2 separate regions of the Homo sapiens genome follow, and region 2 is linked to region 1. The links are contacts of gene promoters, found by promoter capture Hi-C in blood cells and fetal thymus (Javierre and others, 2016). All regions are on one chromosome and are shown on one strand. Each heading gives the region's core, a stretch centred on a gene start or on the middle of the fragment in contact. The rest is flanking DNA. Distances are from core to core; before and after follow the strand shown. Region 1 holds the start of NRGN (neurogranin). Region 2 has its middle 5.7 kb from the start of ROBO3.

Region 1 (7,428 bases), core at 3,351-5,850:
CTCCCTAAAAAGCATAAAAGCAAACTGTACCCCTTGCACAAACTTGTAAAGCAAGCTTATACCCAACTACCTTGGGCACATGTCATCTGGACCTCTTGAAGATGTGTCAACAGGTGCATCCTTAACCTTGGCAAAATGAACTCTCCAAATTGATTGATACATGTCTCAGATACTTTTGGATTCATGCTTGCTTCAAACCATCATCCAGGGAGGCTTCCTTGACCATCCAAATTCTCAGTCATTTCTTCCACACCTCAACTCCCAGAACATTTACTGTCTGCTTAATTCCTTTCGTATCTATCATTCATTATTTTATACACGCACATATATGTACTTTTTCCATCGGATTACAACATCCAAGAGAAAAGAGATTATGTCTGATTTGCTTAGCTTACGCTAGGAGCACTGTACAGGAGAAATGCAGAATTCAAAGTCAGAACTCCTGGGTTTTAGTCCTAGTTCTGCATTTCCTCAGAGATCTAATGCTGGACAAATAGCAAGTCACTTAACCTCTCCCAGCCTCAGTTTCCTCCTCAGAAAAAGAGGTTAGAAATAACAATACCTCCTAGGCTGGGCACGGTGGCTTATGCCTGTAATCTCAGCACTTTGGGAGGCTGAGGCAGGCAGATCACTTGAGGCCAGGAGTTCGAGACCAACCTGGCAAACATGACAAAACCCTGTCTCTACTAAAAATACAAAAAAATTAGCCTGACATGGTGGTGAGCATCTGTAATCCCAGCTACTCAGGAGGCTGAGGCAGGAGAATCGCTTGAACCTGGGAGGTGGAGGTTGCTTAAGATTGTGCCACTGCACTCCAACCTGGGTGACAGAGTGTGACTCTGTCTCAAAAAGAAAGAAAGAAAAAGAAAGAAAGAAAGAAAGAAAGAGTAATACCTCCTCACACTGTTCTCGAGAGCACCACTTTAAATAATGGATGTGGTAGCACTTTGTAAAGTGCTATTCAGATTTAGCCTAGAACTCACTCTAGAATATTGGTTATTTCCCCATCTTAGCAAATATATTATACCGAGCCTTCCGTATTGCCTCTCTAGCAGCACCCTGAACATAGCAGAAGTTCAAGAAATATTTACTCCTCTTGATAATGCTGGTAACAATCATGATGCTGACAATGACAGAACAAAATGACTACTGGTGAAAATGACTCAACGGTCACCTAATGTCCAGCAAACCTGATTTCTACCTTTGAATGGACCCCTTAAGCCATGTGCTTTCTCCCCCTCTCCTTCCTGACATGTGGGGTGAGGGTGGGAAGAGGCCTCCAGCCTGGCAGAGGCCCCTTTAAAAATGTACCCGGGCTCCTCCTCTGCCAACCAGGTTGCTAAAAATACTACAACAGCAAAAGCTGAAATATTTGCAGAGAAAACTGAATTTCCTGCTACCTCCACCCCCTCCACTCAAATGGGTAAAATCCTGACCTAAGAAGCCCCCAGATCAGCTCCACCAAAGACACAGGCCTCATACTTTCTAGCCCCCTTCTGATTATGGGTCCCTCCACGGGCTTGAGCCAGGATGTGAAGTTCAGAAGGTGCCCACTCCGAGAAGGGGAAGCCACAAGTTATTGGGAAATAGATTGTCACGTGCCTTGGCTTTTCTGCCTGCTTACTAGGACCAACCCTCTCCAAATCCCCTTCCATCTGTCCCAAGAAGAATCTGTATTGGACCACAGGAGCTTCCCACTAATCCATCTTTTATCCTCTCTTTTGTCTATCCCTCACCTGCCTTGGCTTCTATTCCTCACCCCTGTCATCTCCATGCTTCCTGCTGGCTCCATCCCACGGCACCCACCAACATGCCCCAGTTGCCTCCCTAACCTGGCCATTCCCTTCCAGAGCTCATCTCCTTTCCAGGCCAGCAGTTTTCCTTCAGTAGCTATGGGGGCTGGAGACTGTAGATGAGAAGCTTTAAAATTTGAAAAGTCAAGAACAACTACGAGTCCAAGCCCATCTGGACAGTAGGTCATACTCCAAATGTTGACCGGTGGCACCCAGGCCCTAGGCCAGGCAGGTTACCATGGGGAGTATAACTTGGCATCATTCTGCCAAAGACCAGAGCCTGCAGAGGCAGACCCAGCCATCCCTTACTGCATCTGTCCTTTGTCCTAGCTCACCTATTTGAGTATCACAGGCTGAGTCCCACCAGCCCACCTTGCTGACAAACCCCAGCCACCTAGAGGCTCAGAAGAGGGACCTTTCCCCAGCGCTAGTGGGTGCCTTGGCCCCACAGTGGTTAAGGGGCCCACGCTGAGCATGTCTTTGGATGTCAGTGGGTGACAACCCGTGCAGGGTGTGTGTCTCTGGGTGTGTGGGCAGTGTGTGTGTCTGCATCTTTGGGTCTGTGTGTGTAATTTCTATGAGGCCATATGTGTTACTGCTCCTGCCACTGGTATTTGAGTTTGTGAGTGTCTGTCTTCTCATCTCAGGCTCTGCCTTCCTCTCTGTCTTTTCCTCACCTCAGAGCCTGCCCATCCCCCAGGGCCAGCACTGTGGCCAGTTCTGCGTAGGCGCCTTGAGTGGGCTGTTGCTGAAATGGTTGCTTTGCGGATGGAACTGACAGTTGCCGTATCTGTTCTCCTATGGGCCCTCCAGTGTTCAGAGACACCCTCACCCCACACAAAGGTGTCCTTCAGGAAGAGGGAAGGGCTGTGCTGCCTGTGTGGGAGTTGGTGGGGGGGGTGTTGTAAAGATACCCCCCCTTCAGTTCTGACCAGCAGGAAGAAGGGCCCAGAGGCAGCGCAGTCTGCAGAGGGATGTTGCCTAGCAACTTGGGAGACTTGACTGCAAACTCACCAAATCCCGAATTCCTCAGCTCTAATTTGGGAAGAGAAAAGCACAGAGTCTAGGCCTGGTATCCACTCTGTCCCCCAATTTCCCCCTTTCCTCTCCTCTCTGGATTCTGGAGTTGAAGTCCAGCAGGAATTGGCACAACAGAAGGCCACAGATGTGCGTGTCATTTAGGCAAGGGCCTGAGTTCCCAGGACATCTGGCCACTTGGAGGAGGTGGGGAGATGAAAGATGTGCCAGAGACAGATTGGGGAACAGATTTTTTTTTACAAAAGTGGGTGGGTCCCAAACATGCTGGGAGAGACACCCCTACACCCCAAGCCCTGGAATCCCGGCCAGCATCCAGCTCAGCCTGGGACCCCAAGCTGGCTAACCTTATCCCCACCCTGAATGGACTCAGGCATTTCTCTCCCACTCATTTTTCCTTTGGCAAGCAGAGCCTCGGGCCCAAACATCTAGGTGGAAAGGAAGCATGTCACCGCCACGTGGTCCCTGGTCATGGCCAGGGACTGGGGATGCACAGCAGAGCTGTCTCAGGATCTGCTGTCCCAACCAGAGCCACAGGGCATTTCCCACCTTTGCTCCCAGCAGGAGCCATCCTTTCCTCCTTCCCTTCTCTGGGACCTTAGCTGAGAAGACTTTCTAGTTTTCTCAGAGAAGGCCTACCCTACCCACATAACAAGCCACACTGCCAGCTTTTGTACCCTGCCGAGTTGGGGGAGGCTGACGACCACAACAGTGGCAGTCTGTCCCTCCCAGATGCTCTTTCCATAGCTCCCCTTCCCAGCCTCTCACGAAGCCCACATCCTGCCTCATCATGGACCCAAGAGCCAATTACTTCGAATTCTCTACACTTGGGTTTAGGGTATTTTTCTTCTTCTCAGGAGCAAGGGCGAGGATGGCCAGCTTTTGTCTTATTCTGAGGCAGCAGATCAAAAGGTTAGGCAGAGTCTGGTATGAAAGGGAGGAGGATACTTCTTCCAAGTCTGTGCCCATATATAAATACATACAAAATAGGTGTTGTGCATATATGATGTTGTTTGTTGCAGCTCATGTAGACAGATCGATAATAGATACGTCATGCCGACAGCTTGAGTTGGGTGACTGTCCGTGTGCGTGCGTGAGCGCGCGGGCGCCCGCAACAGGGTGTCCGCATTTACCTGCAACTGAAGGGCTGCGTAGTTATTTTTGCAGGTTGTATCTGCAGTGTCTGTATGCTGGAAGAAGGCCTGGGAAAATCATATGTGGACATGTGGGGCTTGTGAGCTTTTGTGTGGACGCATGCCCATCGCCAGGTTGTACCAACAGGTTTCTCCGTCTGTAGCAGGAGTGATGATGAGACCTTTTTACCGCCCGTTAGGGAGCCTTTCTTTGCGGACTGAGGGGGAGTGAAGTGAAAGGGAGCCATATTTGGGACTCCTGCTAGGTTGTGGAAGTATGGAGGGATGGGTGAGGGGTGCGTGGTTTTCTCTGAGCGGGAGTAGGTGCTGTGCCCAGATGTGGGTGTTTGTGCTCGGGGTGTCGGGGGCCTCCTTCTGCCTACTCCGGCGTACATCTGCCTGGCAGTCTGCCGCCTAGCAAGCCAGGGGATTGCGCCCGGGAGGATGGAGTGTGTAGGAGGCTTGGATACAAGCGTGTAGGCGGAGGGGCTGGGGCAGGAGCGGGAGCGCGGCGCAGAGAGCCGCGAGAGGGCGTGGCCCTCCCTCCACTTCTCCCCGCCCACCCTGCCGGAGGCTGCTCCTGATTGGCTTCCCGGCCGCGGGGCTCAGGTTACATTCGCGAGCGGAGCCGAGCGCGGGAGACCGGACCCGAGAGCAGAGCTGCTGTTTCGGCGCGGGTCGGCTGGCGGCCGACTGCCCCAGAGCCCCCACCCGGCACCACACAGACCCCACCCCCGCCCTGCGCCAGCCTTCGTCCCCGCAGAGGACCCCCCGACACCAGCATGGACTGCTGCACCGTAAGTTAGAGGGCCCGGGGGAGGGGCACTTGGCGGGGTCCGCTGCGAGAGGCGCCTGAGAAAGCCCTGGAGGGCGAGAGAGGGATGGAAGTGGATGCGGAAGACCTAGGAGCAGAAAGAAAAGGGGTCCTTGCCGAGACGTGGGTGGTGGATGGTGGAAGGCGCCCGCCCGACTTGGAAGCCCTAGGAAAAATGCTCCTCAACTCGCGGGGGCGTCTGAGCGCCCATCCGTTAGACAGCCTAGGCTGGACTGGGAGCTCGGCAGGGCTCTGCAAGAGGGGAACTGCGGGTTGGATGACAGGAGGAACTTCCTCCCCAGTGAGACGCTGGCAACCATCGCCTGGAGACACTGCAGCGACTCCTTCCTCCCGTCTTTCGGCCCCCACCCCGTTCCCCATCCCACTGCGCCGCCGTCGGTGGGCGGACAGGCTGATCCTCATGACCCTCCAACGATCGCCTAAGCGCCCTGTGCAGCGCAGGCTGGTCCATATTGGTTAGCTCGGTAGTGATGCTGGCTGCAAAGAGCCTAGTCAGGGTGGTTCTGGGGAGGGGTTGTCCCGGCCCCCAAGGCCTTCTCGCTCGGAAGGGGCTGGGTGAAGTGACCGCGAGAGAGCCCTGCTGGCGAGGAAAGGAAGTGTCTGCAATTTGTCAGCGCCCACGCGGAAACCTGGGTACTGCAAGTGCCCAGCGCCCGAGGGGTTTGCTGTAAAGGTGACTCGGTATGAAAGCGCCTGGCATAGGCCCTGGCTCCTGCCTCACTGGAAGAGTACAGTGATCATACGTATATGAAATTTATTTGTTTGCTTATTTATTTTTTGCCTCTGCACTTGGAGAAAGACTATTCCAAAGTCCTTGTATTTTCAGTCATTCAGTCAACCAGCTAATGATACACGAGGTTACTGACTTTGCCACCTTATGGCATAGTAAAGAAAAAAAAAGTGGGCTTTGGAAGGGAAGGATAGCCCAGTTCTATAATAGGTGAGACTTTCCCATGTCTGGGTACCAAGAGGCAGAGAACACTTAGGGGCAAGTGGTGGTGGTTGCGATTTTAACTCTTATTAGTTTAAGTAATAGTTGCCAGTTTGTGAATGCCTGCCCTGTAGCCAGCACTTTATATTTAATCATAGCAACAACCCTGTGAAGTAGGTATTATTTCACAGATGTGCCAACTGAGGTTTAGAAAGTTAGATTTTTCCAAGGAAGCATGACTCCTAACTGTGGAGGCAGGATTCAAACATAGCCCTGTCTTCTTCGAAGAGCTGTGGTTTAACCTCTCCTCTAAATATTTACTGATTATAAAAGTAATCTGCTCATAATAGAAAACGTAAAACCTAGAGAAAAGTATGAAAAACAAACATGTCAGTCACCTACAGTCCCACCCCCTGGAGAACACCCCGATAACATATCTCCTTCCAGCCTTTTCCCTCTGCTTGTTATTCTACAGGAAGCAATTTTTTGGTTGTGAAGGGAGAAATGGGCTCCTCATGGAGGTTCCTGGGCTCCACTGAGGAAGAGCCCTTCCTCCCAGCAGTGTTGTATAAAGTAGAGAAGATAAATGGATGGTGGGTTCTGGGAAATGAGCTGGGGGGAGGGGAGAGGTGAGGATGACAGGGGAGTATTGCTGGGGAAGGGGAAGTGGGAGACGTGGTCACTGGAAAGAGGTGAGTAAACAAAGAATCCAAGAGGCCAGGGAAGGAATGGAATTGGTCTCCTCTGTGTCTGCAGTAGTAATTAGAGTAGGATGTGGGGGTCCCTGCCTGGAACTGTTGCTCTTGAGTGCCCAGGGAGCCATACTGAGGGATTAGTAGACATGGTTGAAGTCAGTGTCCCTTAAAAAAGGAGAGGCTACCCACCCAAAAGGTAAAAGAGAAGCAGATACACAATTATCTCCATGGCCCAGGGCCTGGGGCACCTCCTCCAGTGCACCCTGTGCACAGGAGCCTTCCCAAGTCATGCCCTGTCCTAGGTCTGCAGGGCTAAAGGGCTGAGCAAGAGAGAGCACCATTATCAGACTGTGCAGGAGGGCAGGAAGAAGAAGGAGTGATGTGTGGAGGGTTGGGGAAGGGCAGGGCTAGGGGTGGGCATTTTCCTCCCCTTTCTGTGGAGGGCTGGACTCAGTGCTGGGAGAGAGCTGAGATGTGTGGGAAGAACAGCATACCTCTTGGGGGCTAGAGGCAGGTCCTTCTTCATCTTTTGATTCTGGAGCTCTCCTCACTGACCGCATCACCTGGTGTTTGGGAAGAATCTAGTCCTGTCTTATTCCCGTTTCTCCTTGGTACAGAGGCTCAGATAGAAATGAGGAAGAAGAAAACAGATCTGCCTATTTTTTTAAGAGACAGAGGAATGGTTTTTTATTCATGCTGATTCAAATATTGCAGTTGCTGATTTACATAGCCATATATATATATGACTTTTCCTGCATTCACCGCGCATGAAAAAGCGCATGAATTTTTTTGGATCCTCATTTCTTTTGCTTAGTCTAGTTGGCTTGGCCCTGCTGAATTCATAGAAATAATTACCTGCCCTGAGGCAGTGGCTAGCAGCAGAGGCTACTGAATCCCATCACTTCACTATTTGTCAACTGAGTGACCTTAGCTAAGTTACAAAATGTCTCAGAGGCTGTTTCCTGACTTCCAAAATGGGGATTAAATGAGGTAATATATGCAAAGC
Region 2 (7,428 bases), core at 3,100-5,599, 120 kb after region 1:
TTATCTAGTTCTGTGGTTTCATATGTCATTTATATGATGAGGATGCTCCAATTTATATACCTGTAGCCAAGACTACTCCCTGGAACTTCAGACATCTCTAACTTAACATGTCCCCAACCGAGTTCCTAATATTACCCATTGAATCTACAACGCCTTTAGCTTTCTCCATCTCACTAAAATTTTGTCAATTCTATTTTCAAAATATATCCAGAATCCAGGTACTTCTCATTTCTACAGGTGCCACCCTGATCTGAAACACCACCATCACTTACGTGTGTATTGCAAAAGCTTGCCAAAGCTTCCCAGCTGCTTCCCCTGCTTCCTCCCTTCAGGTTTCTCTTCAGTCTGTTCTTAGCACAGCAGCCAGAGAAACTCTATTAAAATAAGTGAAGTTATGTCACTGTTCCACTCAAATCTCCCTCCACGGAATCCCATCTCACCCAAAATAAGCTAGAGTTATTATTATGTCATACAAGGTCCTACGTAATTACCCCAGTCTTGATGTCTCTCTTATTCACCCTACTCCACCTGTTTTTTTTTTCCTTCAACTCACTTGTTATGCTCCTGTCTCAGGGCCTTTGCGTTGGCTATTTCATCTATCTGGGACAACTCTTTCTTAAGGTAGCCACGTGGCTAATTCTCTCACTTCCTTAAAGGCTTTATTCAAATGTCATTTTTTCAATGAGGCCTCTTCTGGGAACCCCATTTCAATGTTAGTTTCTCGTGCCACTACCATATACTTCTCATCACAATTTAACTTATTATATATTTAAGTTGTTTATCTTTATTATTGCCTGCTAAATTATAGCACCATTAGAATGTAAGCTCTATGAGGGAATTTTTGTTTATTTTGATAACTGATGTATTCCCAGCGCCTTAAAAGAGTGCTTGGTACAGAGTAGATGTTCAACAAATAACTTTTTTTTTTTTTTTTTTTTTTTTTTTTTTTTTTATTGAGACGGAGTGTCTCTCTGTTGCCCAGTCTAGAGTGCAGTGGCGCGATGTCGGCTCACTGCAAACTCCGCCTCCCGGGTTCACGCCATTCTCCAGCCTCAGCCTCCGGAGTAGCGGGGACTACAGGTGCCCGCCACCATGCCTGGCTTATTTTTTGTATTTTTAGTAGAGATGGGGTTTCACCGTGATGGCCCAGGATGGTGTCGATCTCCTAACCTCGTGATCCACCCGCCTCAGCCTCCCAAAGTGCTGGGGTTACAGGCGTGAGCCACTGCGCCCAGCAACTTGTTCTTTTATTTATTTATTTATTTTTGAGACTGAGTCTCTCTCTGTTGCCCAGGCTTCAGTTCAGTGGGGGCGATCTTGGCTCACTGCAACCTTTGCCTCCTGGGTTCAAGCGATTCTCCTGCCTCAGCCTCCCGAGTAGCTGGGATTACAAGCATGCGCCACCATGCCCAGCTAATTTTTTGTATTTTTAGTAGAGACGGGATTTCACCATGCTGGCCTGGCTGGTCTCGAACTCCTGACCTCGTGATCTGCCCGCCTCGACCTCCCAAAGTGTTAGGATTACAGGTGTGAGCCACAATGCCCAGCCTATAATTTGTTCTTGAAAGAAAGAATCAATATTGTAAACATGTCAAATTTCTTAATCTGTGAATTCAATGTAACTCAATAAAAATATCAAAAATAGGCCAGCATGGTGGCTCATGCCTGTAATTCCAGCATTTTGGGAGACCAAGGTGGGAGAATCACCTGAGGTTGGAAGTTTGAGACCAGCCCAGCCAACATGGTGAAACTCTGTGTCTACTAAAAATACAAAAATTAGCCGGCTGTCATGGCAGGCACCTATAATCCCAGCTACTCGGGAGGCTGAGGCAGGAGAATTGCTTGAGCCCGGGAGGTGGAATTTGCAGTGAGCCAAGATTGGGCCACTGCACTCCAGCCTGGTGACAGAGCAAGACTCTGTCTCAAAAAAAAAAAAAAAAAAAAAAAAAATATATATATATATATATATATATATATATACATATTTTTTATATATATATATATTTCCTATAGCTTTGCTTATTATTATTATTATTAAAATTTTACCTTGCAGCTCCAGCTCAAAGGACCTAAAGCTTAATAGAAAAATAATTAAGGACATCTGAAAAAAAAATAAGACTAGCCAAAGAACATCTAAACATTAAGAGTAATGAAGGGAAACTATCAGATAGTAAACTATGTTACAGAGCTATAATAATTGAACAGTTAAGTACAGTCACGGGGAATAACATGCAGATGAACTAACAGAACAGATTCCTATTCACATTTAGGAATATGAATAGGAATTCAGCATATAGGAGAAGTGGTTCTGCAGATCAGTGAAGGAATCAGGGACAACTGCTTATCTAAGAAACAACTATATTTTTACCTTACTCTTCATACCAGAATAAATTCTAAATGCATCCAAGATCTGTATGCAAAATATCAAAGCTTAGAAATTATTAGAAGAAAGTAAAGATTCTATTTTTGTAATCTTAGCATAAGGAAAGTCTAAGCATGAAACAAACTGAAAAGCTATATTGAAATACATTAATACATTTGACTTTGTTTTCTAAAATCTGGTAAAATATTTTTCAGTCAAAAATTATATGACAAACTGAGGGGAATTTTCAACATATACACATGAGACAAATAATAAATTTTCCCCAGTGACACAAGAGAGCAAATCGTGGAAAAAATGTGTAAGTGGCCATTAAACAGATGAAAATGTTCTCAAGTTCACTCAGAATTAACTATATATGTTACAGTAATTAAATACATATTTCATTTATTTAATTGTAAAAAATAAAAACATAATATTTGGTCATGGTGAGCAGACAGAGACTCTCATACACTGCTGTGGGACTGTCAATTGTGGCACCATTTGAAGGGCAATTTGATGATATATATGAAAATTTAAATGCGGCCGGGCTCGGTGGCTCATGCCTGTAATCCCAGCACTTTGGGAGGCCAAGGGAGGCGGATCACTTGAGGTCAGGAGTTTGAGACCAGCCTGGCCAACATGGTGAAATACCATCTCTACTAAAAATACAAAAATTAGCCGGGCATCAGGGCATACTCCTGTAATCCCAGCTGCTCAAAAGGCTGAAGCAGAAGAATCGCCTGAATCTGGGAGGCAGAGGTTGCAGTCAGTCGAGATTGAGCCACTGCAGCCTGGGCAACAGAGTGAGACTCCACCTCAAAAAAAAATGTATATATATATATATAAATGCACATACTTCTTGCTATGTAACTTTAAGCAGTTACTTAAGTAAAGTTACTTTACTTGCTGTGCTTTCTTAGGCATAATTTTCTTATCTGAAAACTGGAAATAATAGTACCCACCTCGCAGCGTTCCTATGAGCATTACATGAGATTATGCCTGCAAAGTGCTCAGATTTTTCTCATTCCTGGTAGCTTGCACATCCAGAACTATGTCTGGCCCACAGTGGGTACCTGGTGAACATCTGCTGAATGAAGAAATTAATAAAACCACTCAATAAACATTAGCTGTTGTTAGTTATTATTTGCCTCTATAATTTCACTTTTTACAATTTATTCTACAGCTAGAGATGTGTGTAAAGATATAGGTGTAGTATGTTTATTAGTAGCATTGTTTGTAAAACAAAAAGCCAGAAACAACCTAAGCTTCCATAAATAGGGGACTGATTACAAATGTACAATAAACCTATGCAATGGAATATTAGCCAGCCAGTAAAGTAAAAAAGATGGAGATACATGAACTGATAGAAAGAGATGCCCTAAAAATATCGATGGGTTAAAAAAGGCAAGTTGCAGAACAGTACAAATAATCTGAGACAAAGGTCTCACTGTGTTGCCCAGGCTGGTCCTGAACTCCTGGGCTTAAGTGATTCTCCTGCCTCAGCCTCTCAAGTAGCTGGAACTACAAGCCTGTGCCACTATGCCTGGCTAATTTGTACTTTAAAAGAATAGAGAGGATGGGCACAGTGGCTCGTGCCTATAATTTCAGCACTTTGGGAGGCCAAGGCAGGTGGATTGTCTGAGCTGAGGAGCTCAAGACCAGCCTGGGCAACATGGCAAAACCCCGTGTCTACCAAAAAAATTTTAAAAAAATTAGCCGGGTGTGGTGGTGCACGCCTATGGTGCCAGCTATTCGGGAGGCTGAGGTGGGAGGATCGCTTGCACCTGGGAAGTGGAGGTTGCAGTTAGTGGAGATTGTGCCACTGCACTCCAGCCTGGGTGACGGAGTGAGACCTTGTCTCAAAAAATATATTAATAAATAAAATAAAAGGAATAGAGATACATATGCTTATATATGCTTTTTAAAAAGAATCAGAAAGGACACACAAGAAACCACGGGTAGCTACCCAGGCAACTGGATCTGTAGGATAAAGAAGGACTTGATGGAGTGAGGACTTAGACTTTTCATCTTACACTTTCTTATACTGCTTGAATATGTTTGCCTGAACATGCATTATGATTATCATTACAAGAATATTTTAAAAACTCAAATAATAGGGCCCTGGGGGAGTATCAGGAATATGGAGAGAGCAGAAGAGGAAGGAAATACAGGAAAATAAGGTATACTAAGTTAAATGTGTTGTCCCCCCTAAAAAAGTCCTACTCACCCAAAACTTCAGAATGTGACTTCATTTGAAAATGAGGGTTTTTGCAGATGTAATTAGTTAGGGTGAAGTCATGCTGGATTAAATTGGACTCTAATCCAATGACTGGTGGCCTTATAAGAAGAGGTAAGAGACACCGAGACACACACCCAGGGAAGGCCATAAGAAGACAGAGGCAGAGATGGAGTGATGAATCCTCAAGACCAGGAAGGCCAAGCACTGCTGGTAATCAGCAGATGCTGGAGGAGGCAAGAACAGATCCCTCCCTGGAGCCTTCAGGGAGAGCATGGCCCAGCTGACACCTTGATTTCAGGCTTCTAACCTGTGAGAGGATACATTTCTGTTGTTTTAGGCCACCTAGTTTTTGGTACTTTCTTACAGCAGCTGTAATGCAAAAGGAGAGAGAGAGAAGGCTAGTGGGCTCTGCAGGGGTAGTTGTGAGGACTAACTATTTAATCAGGTATAGTCACCAAGTGTATATTTATGGAAGCTTGCTCTGTATCTAGTTTTATAAAAAGAACCAAGAAAGCTCTTTTTCTCCCTGGACTTTGTTTTATCTGTATTGGGATGTGAACATTTCTGCCCAGTTGTCTCCAGATTTCCAGTCTTGGTAGAGTGTGTTGCAAAGTGTCTCCCCACAGTCTCCTCCACTGGAACCCTGTGGGGAAAGGGGGACTTTCATGCAGGGGGCCTTGGCTTATTATCTCAGCAGCTATAGGGGTTGAGCCAACACACTCTGGCTCCTGCCGGGGGCAGGCTCCTGCTGTCTGCTTTCCAGCTGGGTGCCTGCTCTTTGCTCTCTGATTCCCCCTCCTGTTTGGTTCTCTGGCCCCTGCTGGCTGGGTCGCTGCCCCCTGGCATCATCACTCTGAAGCCAGCAGCCCTGCTGGGCCATTCACAGGCATACCCTAGTGGGGGTAAGGGGCAGATGTTATTTCTTTGTCCCCCTCCCAGCAAACACACACACACACACACACACACACACACACACACAATCTCACACTCAATATGTATTAATGTCCTGGGAAGGGGTCCAGGCAGAGAGTGATGGCAGGCTACAGGCTCTGGGGGGATGCAAATGGACCGGACAGTGTGTGTGTACATTGGGGGGAGGCAGTGGTAGTAATGGGGGGTTGTCTTCAGACTGCACTCCTGGGCAATTACATGCCAGCAGCTTCATCCACTACCAGCCGGCATGCAGGCTTTAGACCACCAAGAAGCCTCCCCATATGGCCCCAGCTTGGCCACTGAAAATTCCCAGCCACATTCTCTGGCCGATATGCTGGCACTAGGCCAAGAAAGTTAGCCTGGGGTAGCTGTTCTCTCCCCTAGCACGTGAACACACACACACACACTCACACACCAGTGGGGGGTGGGATGGAGAGTTCCTTTAGAGGCTCATGATTCCCAAAACACCACTCTTGTGTAGGGTTCCTGCCTTACTCATAATCACTTGCCCTTCCCATTTCCCATGTTCCTCTGCAAATCCACCCACCCAAAATACCACCATAGGAAAGAAATATTCCTCTTCTATATTACCTCATCAACTCCTGGCCCAGGGCTCTTTTCTAGGGCTCTACCTGTGAACCCACACATGCACACACACGCAAACACACACACACACACACACTTCTTCCCATCAGATGCTGTAACCTTATCAGAACAAACTTAGCTCCTAACTCTACAAATTCAACTCGCCCCAACCTCCCTGCTTCCTGCTACTCTCTCTTCTTTCTGCCAAATCTCCTTCAAAACCTCTGTTTCTTTTTCTTACCCTTTCTAAAGTCTGGACTGTACATATTGTTGGTAAAACTCTGGGAAAGAAGTAGTTTCCTGAGGTGGTAGAAGAGAGGGTCTCTAAACCCAACTCTGACTCTTTCTCCAGCCCAAGGTGGAAATTTATAAGTCAACAGAATGAATGCACCCCGGCTGAGGCTCCTCCAATTGCAGGGCATCTACTCAGTGTTTTAGGTGCTGTACAGGCACTTACAGTTGACAAATTAGGAAATGGACATAGTTGCAAAGAGTTGCATACCCACTCCAGAAAAAGGACAAAGAGTTGTCTTGGTAATTTTCAGAGAGCAGAGCAGGCAGTGAGGAGACTAGTAGGAGGCAAACCCCTTTCAGAACTGCCTATGGGGGTAGCCAGGAGAGAAGCTGGATGTGGACAGGGGCAGGGCCAGTTTCTAGGCTGCCTGTCTGACCCTCAGTAAAGAAGAGAAGGTGGGGAGAGGGCTGCAGAAGAGCTGGGAGGTGTGACTTCTGCTGGGCCTTCTCTGCCCACTCTCTGCTCCACTCTGCCTAGCCCAGGGCCGTAAGGACACTAGAGAATGGGAAGGAAAAGGGAGGGAACTTAGGTTATGGTTGGGAGGTATTTATTCTCTGATATCCCCAGTTGGGAGAACTCAGCCCTCTTGGCTTAGATCTGAGTTTGGTTTAAAAGGAGAGTATCATCAAGATAAAGAGAAGTACAAAGAAGGAAAGAGCAGAGAGAAACAAGAAAAAGTGGAGAGTGAAAATTAGAGAGAGCCCAGACGAGGTGAAGTGTAGGAGAGACAGCAGATTCCTGGAAAGTAGAGTGGCCCGGCTATTTGTCCAGCCTCCAAACCCACGTGACAGGGACTGTGAAGCAGCCTTGCTCACGGGTTGAGCCGCGCCTCCGCTCAGGGAACCCTGAGCAAATACGCCCTGATCCCCACATAAAGGGCCAATTAACTGCGCCGTCTCCGGGAACAAATCCGCTAACAGGGTGACAAGCCCCTAGACGCTGGCAGGCCCTGTGTTTGCGGAGAGGCCAGCCGGGAGCAAATCAGGGCATTAGGACCGGGCAGGAGCCGCATGG

Evidence for each region. Contacts are between HindIII fragments. The CHiCAGO score rates a contact against its expected background, and 5 or more counts as called.
Region 2: a fragment that was not itself captured here is called in contact with the fragment with the promoter of NRGN in region 1 in 2 of 17 cell types (naive CD8 T cells and naive CD4 T cells); the score reaches 6.0 in naive CD8 T cells.

Annotation. Positions count from the first base shown.
Region 1 is chr11:124,735,342-124,742,769 of GRCh38, forward strand. NRGN (neurogranin) reads left to right here and starts at 4,601. Exons shown (of 4, transcript NM_006176.3): 1 at 4,601-4,758. The coding sequence starts at 4,744. RefSeq lists silencers at 4,300-4,359, 4,420-4,739. The HindIII fragment of the contact is 6,441 bases long and covers 1,919-7,428 here.
Region 2 is chr11:124,856,021-124,863,448 of GRCh38, forward strand. No RefSeq gene overlaps it. Among named protein-coding and RNA genes, the nearest start is that of ROBO3, 5.7 kb to the right of the region's middle. RefSeq lists an enhancer at 6,887-7,388. The HindIII fragment of the contact is 1,449 bases long and covers 3,626-5,074 here.